Regions from separate parts of the Homo sapiens genome. Here region 2 is linked to region 1. The links are contacts of gene promoters, found by promoter capture Hi-C in human tissues and cell types (Jung and others, 2019). All regions are on one chromosome and are shown on one strand. The core of a region is centred on a gene start or on the middle of the fragment in contact, and the rest is flanking DNA. Distances in the headings are between cores, read along the strand shown.

Region 1 (4,756 bases), core at 751-3,250:
AGCCAGTAGAGCCAGAGCCCTTCCCCAAAGCCCCAGTCACAGTCGGCAGTCCCCAGTCACAGCGGAGCCATCGCACACCTCTGTGCGCCTGTATTTGCGGCACCCTCTGCCAGGAATGCCTCTTCGCAGAGGCTCCCGTCACACTTCTCATCCTCCAGCGACATCTGCAAGAAGTCTGTTCTCTCCGAGCCACTTAACAGGAAAACTAATCTCGTCTCGGCTCCCACAACCCTGCACCTGTTGTAATCCCTCTTCCTTCTTCATTGGCTCTTAATACAAAACTGAGTGTTGTGTCTGCCCTCCTGCACTCATGTGTGTAAGTGCACACATGCACGCACACACACACACACCCCAATTTCCTGGCATCGTCCACCCGAGTGGATGAGTGGATGGTGCAGGAAGTGAATGAATAGGTGTGCGTGAATGGGTGAGTGGAGGAATGAGTGTGTGCGGTAGGCAGGGGTGGGACGGGGTAATGGAGATGACAGTGGGTGGATAGGGAAGTGACTGAGCAGGTGAATAGGAGATATCAGATGTGGCAATGACGGTAGATGAGAAATGGCCGGGGAGATGTCAGAGGAGCGATAGGTGGACGGATGTTTGAATGGCGGGTGAAGGGCGGGGTGGATGAATGGATGAGTGGGCGTGTAGGGAGTAGGTGGGTGGCGCAGCCCTACCTAGAAGCAGCTCCGCGGGAGGAGGGCTCTGCTATTCTGCCCTGATCTTCCTGCCTGTTCCCTCCGCTGCAGCCCCTTTCCCCGCCCTGGGCCCAGCCCTCACCTCTGCCCCGCCCCGCCACTCACCTGTGGGTTCCCGGCTGCGGGCCTCCTGCAGGTAGCGCAGCGCGCGTGCGTAGTCGCCCAGGTGGTAGAAGGCAATGCCGGCACGGTAGGTGGCCTTGAAGTTGCCCTGCTGCTTCTCCAGTACCTTGAGACAGTACTCGCGCACGCGCTCGTAGTTTACCAGCTCCGACTGCAGCAGGCAAGCTGCGAGGGCCCCGCGGCCGGCACTCTCAGAGCCTGCTGGCACCCCCAGAACCCACCTGACTGCGAGGAGCCGAGGCTCCAGGCGGCAGGGAACCAGGCCTAAGGGATTGCTCCGGCAACCAGGGGCGCCAATCCGCTCGCCTATCGAAACAGGCGCAACTGCGCCGCTGCTAGGGGGCGCCAAAACACGGACAGGCGCCACTGGGCGATCCACCCAGAGCTGTCGGTGGGCAAGAGCACTAAGGCCCCGCGCGGGGGCGAGGGCCGGGACCTCGAGAGCCTGGCTCAGGGCAGACTTCCTCACCTTGGGTCCACGTGCGGCCAGGGGGTGGAAAGAATGACTCAGGGGAAGCGAGGCCCTGAATACCCGACCCAAAGACCATTTCCTGCATCCCAGCTCCCTCCAGCCACAGACCCCTGTCATCCCCTACCCCTAATCCCTTTCCTTGATCAAGCTCTGAAGGCTCCCCCAGAAGCCCACAGCCCTGGACCCTTCAGCCCCAGGGCCCCTGGCCCCCAAGTCGCCAAGCTCTCCCGATTGCCCCCTCCCCTCGTGCCCCATCCCCCCACCCCCCGACGGCGTACCCGTGAGGGAGTCGTAACACTCCACCTCCGTGCTCTCCACCAGGCGCCGCTGCTCCTCGCTGAGGCGCGCCGGCCCGGGGCTGCTGGTGGGCCCGGGGGCGGGGGCGGGCAGGCCGCTAGGGCGGGCCCCCTGCGCCGCCTTCAGCTGCAGCAGCGCTCGGTGGTACTTGCCGATGGCCTCCCGGAACTTCTTCTCTCGATAGCAGCGCTGGCCCTCTGCCTTGAACGCCACGGCGGCACGCAGGCTGCTGTCGAGCGCCGCGCCCAGGCTCCCCGACGGCTCTGGGGTAGGACCGGGACGAGCCGAGCCATGGCGGGAGCCCGAGCCTGGGCCCGAGCCCGGTGGGGAGAGGGCGGGAGGCGGGCGCGGCGGAGGCTCCGGGGCAGCGCTGAGCATCAGCACCGGGGACAGCGCGCCGCGCTGCATTGTGGGAAACTCCTGCCGCCGCCGCTGCAGCTACCGCATCGCCCCCCGCGGGGCTGGTCCCCACCCTTTCTCCGCCCCCTCACCTCCGGCAGCCGACTCCGGCTGCCCCCTATGGGTCTAGGGAAACCCCTCGAGACTTCCCCCATGCTCACTCTCAAATTAACCAAGTCCTAGTTCTCCAGCCCGCCCCCCGAATTGTTCCCATTCCCCTTACCCTCCCCAACCTCCTGCCTGCTCTCCTCCCCGGTGCCCAAAGCTCCCGAAGATTTCTAGAAGGAAAGGACGAGCCTGGGGGAAAGAGCAGGAAGACATCAGCCTCACGGAAAGCTGGCTCTCAGCCCACTGGCCATTTGGCATATCGAATGAGAACACAGGATTTGGACCCAAGCTTCCCAAATTCAAATCCCTGCTTACTTTCTCACTAGTGGTATGACTTAGACAGCTCGCTTAAACTACCTGGAACTCTGTATCCTCATCAGTAACATGGCACAATAATATCACCTTTAGGGCCAGTCGAGGTGGCTCACGCCTGTAATCCCAGCACTTTGGGAGGTCGAGGTGGATGGATCGCTTGAGGTCAGAAGTTTGAGACCAGCCTGGCCAATATGGCAAAACTCCGTCTCTACTAATATACAATATATACAAAATTTTTGTATATATACACAAAAATTAGCCTGGTGTGGTGGCGTGCACCTGTAGTCCCAGCTACTCGGGAGACTGAGGCAGGAGAATCACTTGAACCTGGGAGGCAGAGGTTGCAGTGAGCCGAGATTGTGCCACTGCACTCCAGCCTGGGTGACAGAGGGAGATGCCGTCTCAAAAAAGGAAAGGAAAGGAAAGGAAAGGAAAGGAAAGGAAAGGAAAGGAAAGGAAAGGAAAGGAAAGGAAAGGGGAAAGGGGAAAGAGGAAAGAGAAAAAAGGAAAGGAAAGGAATTAAAAATAATACCACCTTTGGGATTCATCTGTTAATTTATGAAACAAATATTCACTGACATCCTTTCTGTGCCCAGCTCTGTGCTGGATGATGCTGGGACATAGCAGACACTGCGTGAGCTTCAGACCCTACTCTCACTGGGCCCCAGTTCAGTGGGAAGACAGACCAGTGACCAGACAGTGACAGCCCTGAGCAGGCTAGCCTGGGAAGCACAGGCAGAGGGGTCGGGGCCGAGGTGGAAGAGGCACAGGCAGAGGGGTCGGGGCTGGGATGTGGGAGGTACCTGCCCTGGGCTGAGGTGGTGATAAAGTCTTCCTGGAGGAGGGAATAACTCTAAAAACAAGAGAGATCTCCTTCTTGCCCTCATCCAGCTCGGCTGTCTATGGGGGAAAACAAGTGAGAGGGCAAACAAGTCCCCAGGAAAGGAAGCATGCAGGAGGCTTTCAAGAAAAAAATCGAGGATGAATGAGTCAACTGCCCTTCAGTCCTCCTTTGCCGCCTCCTTAGCTGTGGGACCTGGGCCAAGTTCCTCGATCCTCCTCCTTCGGCTTCGTCTGTGCGACATGAGGATAGAAGGCAAGTTAACCTCAGAGCGGTTGCAGAGACTGAATTATCTTATGCAGGTAAGGCACTTAGCACAGGGCTTCATACATTAATGGGCAATTAACAACTGGTGTTTCTTATCGTCCATTAGACTCTGAGTCATGTGATCATGAGTGCCTGGCTCTGAGTCAGCATCCATATATAGTTGTTGAATGAATGAGTGTGTGAGTGAATGGCATTATGCATTACTACTCCTCCCCCTCCTCTGAGACTCTAGCTTGGGTCTCAGCCCCAGGCCTCCCCACTCTCCCCAACTCCACCCCCACAGCACATCCTCTAGCTGGAGGTCCCATGGCAGGTCACATGTGACAGACAGAAACCAGAACTCAGCACCTTCCATCTCAACCAGAGCATCTGCCTCTATCTCTTATTGTACTTTGCTGTAAAACGCTTTTGCTGAGTGAGTTTCTCCCTTATCCCTGGGGTCCAGCCTTGAACACCTCAGGGGTGCAAACATTTTCCTCTCTGCATCTCCAAACCCAGGCTCAGTTAGGAGTGTAAAACTCATGAATTTGAGTTCTTGAGCAGTGCACACACCTTTCCCTACCTCCGGTGTGTCTGTTTTGTAATGAAAAACACAGAGATCTGGCTGGGCGCAGTGACTCACACCTGTAATCCCAGGACTTTGGAAGGCCGGGGCAAGTGGATCACCTGAATTCAGGAGTTCGAGACCAGCCTGGGCAACATGGCAAAACCTTGTCTCTACCAAAAATACAAAAAATTAGCCAGGGGTGGTGGCGTGCACCACTTGGAAGGCTGAGGCGGGAGGATTGCTTGAACCCAAGAGGTGGAAGTTGCAGTGAGCTGAGATCACACCACTGCACTCCAACCTGAATGATGACAGAGTGAGACCCTGTCTCAAAAAAAAAAATAAAAAAAAAAGGAGATCCGTTGATTCATAACCATGTTTTCTGACGAAGTAAATGCCTAGGTACCCAGGCACAGTAGCACAGGACAACTGTACCTAAAATCACAGTCCTGCTGGGATGCAATGCTAACACTTTTACAACACCTCCTAGGTGTCAGACATTGTCATAAAGAGCTTTCCCTTTTATTTATTTTTTATTATTTATTTTGAGATGGAGTCTTGCACTGTCGCCGGGGCTGGAGTGCAATGACGTGACCTCGGCTCACGGCAACATCCACCTTCCGGGTTCAAGCGATTTTCTTGCATCAGCCTCCTGAGTAGCTCGGATTATAGAAGCCCGCCACCACACCCAG
Region 2 (4,756 bases), core at 1,339-3,838, 170 kb before region 1:
GATCCTGCTGTAAGCAATCCTCCTCCCCTAGTCCACCTTTCAGAGCTGAGAAGGGCTTGCATCATCCAATCCAGAACCTCTTTGTGAACTCAGGATTGGGTGCAGTGGGGCAAGGCATGAGAACTGGAAAGGATATAGACAGAATTGCATGGGCAGTGTTCAGCATTCTGAGTTCACCAAAAGCCAGCTGGGGTAAGTACAGTTCAGAATAGCCATGTAATAGAATACAAAGTAATCATTAATTGTTCCAGACATATGATTAACAGAAAAATCAGGTTACAAAGCAGGATAAACAATACGATTACATTTGTAAAATATATGTATATAGAAATATTAAGCAAAAGACTAATAGACATCAATACAAAAATTTAGACAGGTATATGCATGCTAACAGTGCTTATCTCTGTATTGTAGCCCCAATTTTCTTCTTTTTGCTAAAGAGTATGTCATAATTGTGACTATGCCCAGGCATTTAACTTAGAATATATAATTATATTCACACACACACACACACACACATATATACACACATATACACATGTGTATGTATCTATATATGTACATATTTAAATGTACATACACATTTTTTTTCTTGCGAGGAAATTGTTCTCCAAATTAGATGAAAGACATCTTTTATTTAGACATTTTCCTTTCAACGTGGGGACAAAAAAAGGAAACTCTACTGAGCTCTTGTTTTTATGTAATAAATTTGTTTCCATTATTTCCCAATTCTTGACCAACACTAAGATGTCTATGTTTTTCTATGTATGTTAGTACAATTTCTAAAAAAAATTGTCTACAAGTCTTCAACTAATTTCTTGTATGCATTAATGATGGTCATATTTCTACATCCGAATTCAAAAATAAAAATAAAACAGAGTTAACAGAGAGTGAGTACTTTTAATCATAAAAAACAAAAAACTGTGCCTGTCATGAGGATCAAAAAGATTAATGTGACTATAACAAATAACATCAGCTAGTTCTGACATCCTTTAGCTGTATCTCACCAATATAATTAGACATTTTCATTATCAAGACTCTTCTCTGAATGAACACAATGCAGATAAGTGGCATCTGGAAACTACATGAGAAAATCTGTGGAATGTACATCACCATGCTTGGTTCCCTTCTTCACCAAATAACTCATTAAAATATCATTTTGGATACAATTCCTACAGAATGCCTTACAAAAACCCTATCTTAGTATATGGGATTCATATACATGTAACATTTTCTTGAGTATCATTGTTCATAGCATGAATACTGCTTAATGGTATATCAAATATTTTTCTTTTCATAATTCTTTATAGACATCATTTTATTAGCTGCATAATACTTTATCACTTGAGTCTAGTATAATTTGCTTAGTGATTTCCATATTACAGGACACTTGATTTATATAAGATCATTTACAGTGTCATTCCAGGTATCACAATCTTTTGATTCTAGACTAAGGTTTTTCACCCTAGGCACTAATGACATATTGTGCTGTATAATCCTTTGTTGGGGCTATAGGGAGGGTTATCCTGTGCACGGTACAATGTTCAGCAGTATCCCTGACCTCTATCCACTAGATCTAAGTAGCACCTCCCCCATGGTGTGACAACCAAAAGTTTTTAAACATCACCCCCGCTGAGAATCAATGTTCTATCTAGATCAATGGATCCAAACCTCATGGGTCACATACAGTTTTGATAGTCTTATGAAATGATATACTATTTCTCCCTCTAAAACCCACATTGATAAATTTCCATAGTACTTCAATACATTATTTCAAGAGCTTTGTGGTCCCCAAGACCATACGTGGAGTTACAAGAACTCAGATTAAGAATTTCAGTCCTACATTCTTGACAAAAATAGAAAAAAAAAAATCCTAAAATGTGCATAGAACCACAAAAGACCCAAATAGCCAAAGCAGTCTGGAGCAAAAAGAACAAAGTTGGAGGCATCAAACTACCTGACTTCAATATATACTACAAAGCTATAGTAACCAAAACAGCATGATACTGACATAAAAACAGACACCTAGACAAACGGAACAGAATAGAGAGCCCCAGAATAAATCCATATGTTTACAACCAACTGATTTTTGAGACAGGTGCCAAGAACATACAATAAGGAAAAGACAGTCTCTTCAATACATACTGTTGTGAAAACTGGGGAGTCATACACAGAAGAATGAAATTAGACCCTTTTCTCAAACCATTATACAAAAATCAACTCTAAATGGATTAAAGATTTAAATGTAAGATCCCAAACTATGAAACAAATAGAAAAAAACGTACGGGGAAAGCTTCATGACATTGATCTGGGCAATAATTTTTTTTTCTAGAAATGACTTCAAAAGCACAGGCAATAAAAGCAAACATAGACAAATGAAATTACATCAAGCTAAAAAAGCTTCTGCACAGCAAAGTGAAGAGACTACCTACAGAATGAGAGAAAATATTTGCAGTCATGTATCTAATAAGGGGTTAATATCCAAAACGTGTGAGGAACTCAACAGCAAGAAAACAACCCAATTAAAAAATGGGCAAAGGACCTGATAAACACATCTCAAAAGACGACATATAAATGGCTACAGTATATGAAAAAATACTCAACATTACTAATCATCAGGGAAATGAAAATTAAACCTACAATAAGATATCACCTCATATGTGTTGGGGTGGCTATTGAAAAGACATAAGTTAACAAATGTTGGTGAGAATGTAGAGAAATGTGAACCATTGCACACTGTTGGTGAGAATGTAAAGTGACACAGACATTATGGAAAACAGCATGGAGGTTCCTCAAAAAATTAGAAATAGAACCACCATATGATCCAGCAATCTACTACTGGATATTTATCCAAAGGAAATGAAATCTGTATACCAAAGAGACACCTGCACACCCATGTTTATTGCAGCACTATTCACAATAGCCAAGATATGGAATCAATCTAACTGTCTATCAATGAATGGATAAAGAAAATGTGGTATATATGCAGGTATATATACACAATGGAAAACTAGCCATAAAAAAAGGGAAATGCTGTCATTCGCAACAACATGGATGAACCTGGAGAAATTCATATTAAGTAAGCCAAGCACAGAAAGGCAGATGATCTCACTCATCAGTGGAATCTGAAAAATGTTCATATAGGCCAGGTGCGGTGGCTCACACTTGTAATCCCAGCACTTTCGAAAGCGGAGGCGAAGGCCGAGGCAGGCGGATCACCTAAGGTCCAGAGTTCGAGACCACCCTGGCCAACATGGCAAAACCCTGTCTCTACTAAAAATACAAAAATAAGCTGGGTGTGGTGGCATGCACCTGTAGTCCCAGCTACTCGGAAGGCTGGGGCAGGAGAATTACTTGAACCCGGGAGGCAGAGGTTGCAGTGAACCGAGATCACGCCACTGCACTCCAGCCTGGGCAACAGAGTAAGACACTCTCTCTCAAAAAAAGAAAACACTTGATATCATAGAATTAGAGAAGAGAATGGTGTTTACAGGTCGGGGGTAATGTGGGTGAGGGAGGGAAGATGGTGTTGGCTGGGGAAATGTTGGTCAAAGGATATAAAATTTCAGGAAGATAAGAGAAATAAGCTCAAGAAATCTATTACACAACAACGTATCTACTATTAATAACTACTATTAATAACTATTCTGTAGTGCTAAGAGAGTGGATATTAAGTGTTCTCACCACAAAAATGATAACTATGTGAGGTAATGCATTGCTAATTAGCTAGATTTAGTCATTCCACAATGTACATATACTATAAAACATCATGTTGCACACGATAAATACATACAATTTTATCTGTCAATTTAAAAAGAACTTCTGTCCTAGATCATTTGAGCAACTCACTCATTTTCTTACTATGCAAGCAGCAATCACAATGAATCACATATTCCCAATGCTCCTGTCCTATAGAAAGTCAAGGGAAATGACCTAAAATGACCACACGAAAACAAAAGCTAAAACATTAAACATTTATTATTATATGCCTAGCACTGCTCTAAGAGGTTTTAGAGTATTAATTCATTCTAATGTTCATTACAAGCCTGAGAAGACCAGAAACGGACAGAACAAACATTCCAACCCAGATACTCTGGATCCACTCCCCTATTCTTAACCGCAACAGCGTACTGCCTCTCACAGTTCACACAAATAGCCCAAAATGCAACCGGAACTGCCGAATCTCACAGAGATCTGGCAAGTATTACAATTATCATCTCATGGACTCTCCCGAAAAATCCTGACTCTGGTTGATACCAATTTCTGTGCAATCACTTTCCGATTCCTGAAAGCCTCACAGACGAATGGAAATCACCCAACCATCTCCATTCTTCCCTACTTGGAAAAGGAGGCCTGTAAAGAGTCAGAAACCTGGCGTGTGATTCCACAAACTAATCTTCTTTTCAAAGCAGAGTCTAAAATAAAGCTTTAATATAAACCTCTGGAGGACTATTTTTATACCAGCTTAGAAGAAGAGAGCGTACAGGAAGGTGTGAACGATTTGCCAAATGGCTCTGTGAATATTAAATGGCAAGGTGGGGAGCGGGCGGGGTGGGGAACGGCTCGCTGGGAGGCGGCACAATGGGAGGGGGCAAGAATCAATTTGCATATTCTCCTGAAATTCACTAAAAATTTACAGGAACCTCTATATTCTAAAATCAAAAACGCATTTCTTGAACAAATACAAAGCACAAACTCACCCTTGACTTAAGTGTGCAACAATAACGCTCTCATCCTCCTCTCGGTCCTTCTTTTG

The links. The method cuts DNA at HindIII sites, captures the fragments that hold promoters and counts their contacts. A contact is called where the count stands out against the background at its distance.
Region 2: a contact is called between a fragment that was not itself captured here and the fragment with the promoter of TTC9B in region 1, in 1 of the 25 tissues and cell types used here (bladder).

What each region holds. Positions count from the first base shown.
Region 1 is chr19:40,216,384-40,221,139 of GRCh38, forward strand. It overlaps TTC9B (tetratricopeptide repeat domain 9B), which reads right to left and starts at 2,001. Exons shown (of 3, transcript NM_152479.6): 1 at 1,572-2,001; 2 at 804-986. The coding sequence starts at 1,998. RefSeq lists enhancers at 869-1,459, 3,038-4,237. The HindIII fragment of the contact is 9,592 bases long and covers 1-4,756 here.
Region 2 is chr19:40,050,716-40,055,471 of GRCh38, forward strand. All of the region lies in intron 1 of ZNF780B (zinc finger protein 780B), which reads right to left. Among named protein-coding and RNA genes, the nearest start is that of ZNF780B, 3.1 kb to the right of the region's middle. The HindIII fragment of the contact is 4,300 bases long and covers 439-4,738 here.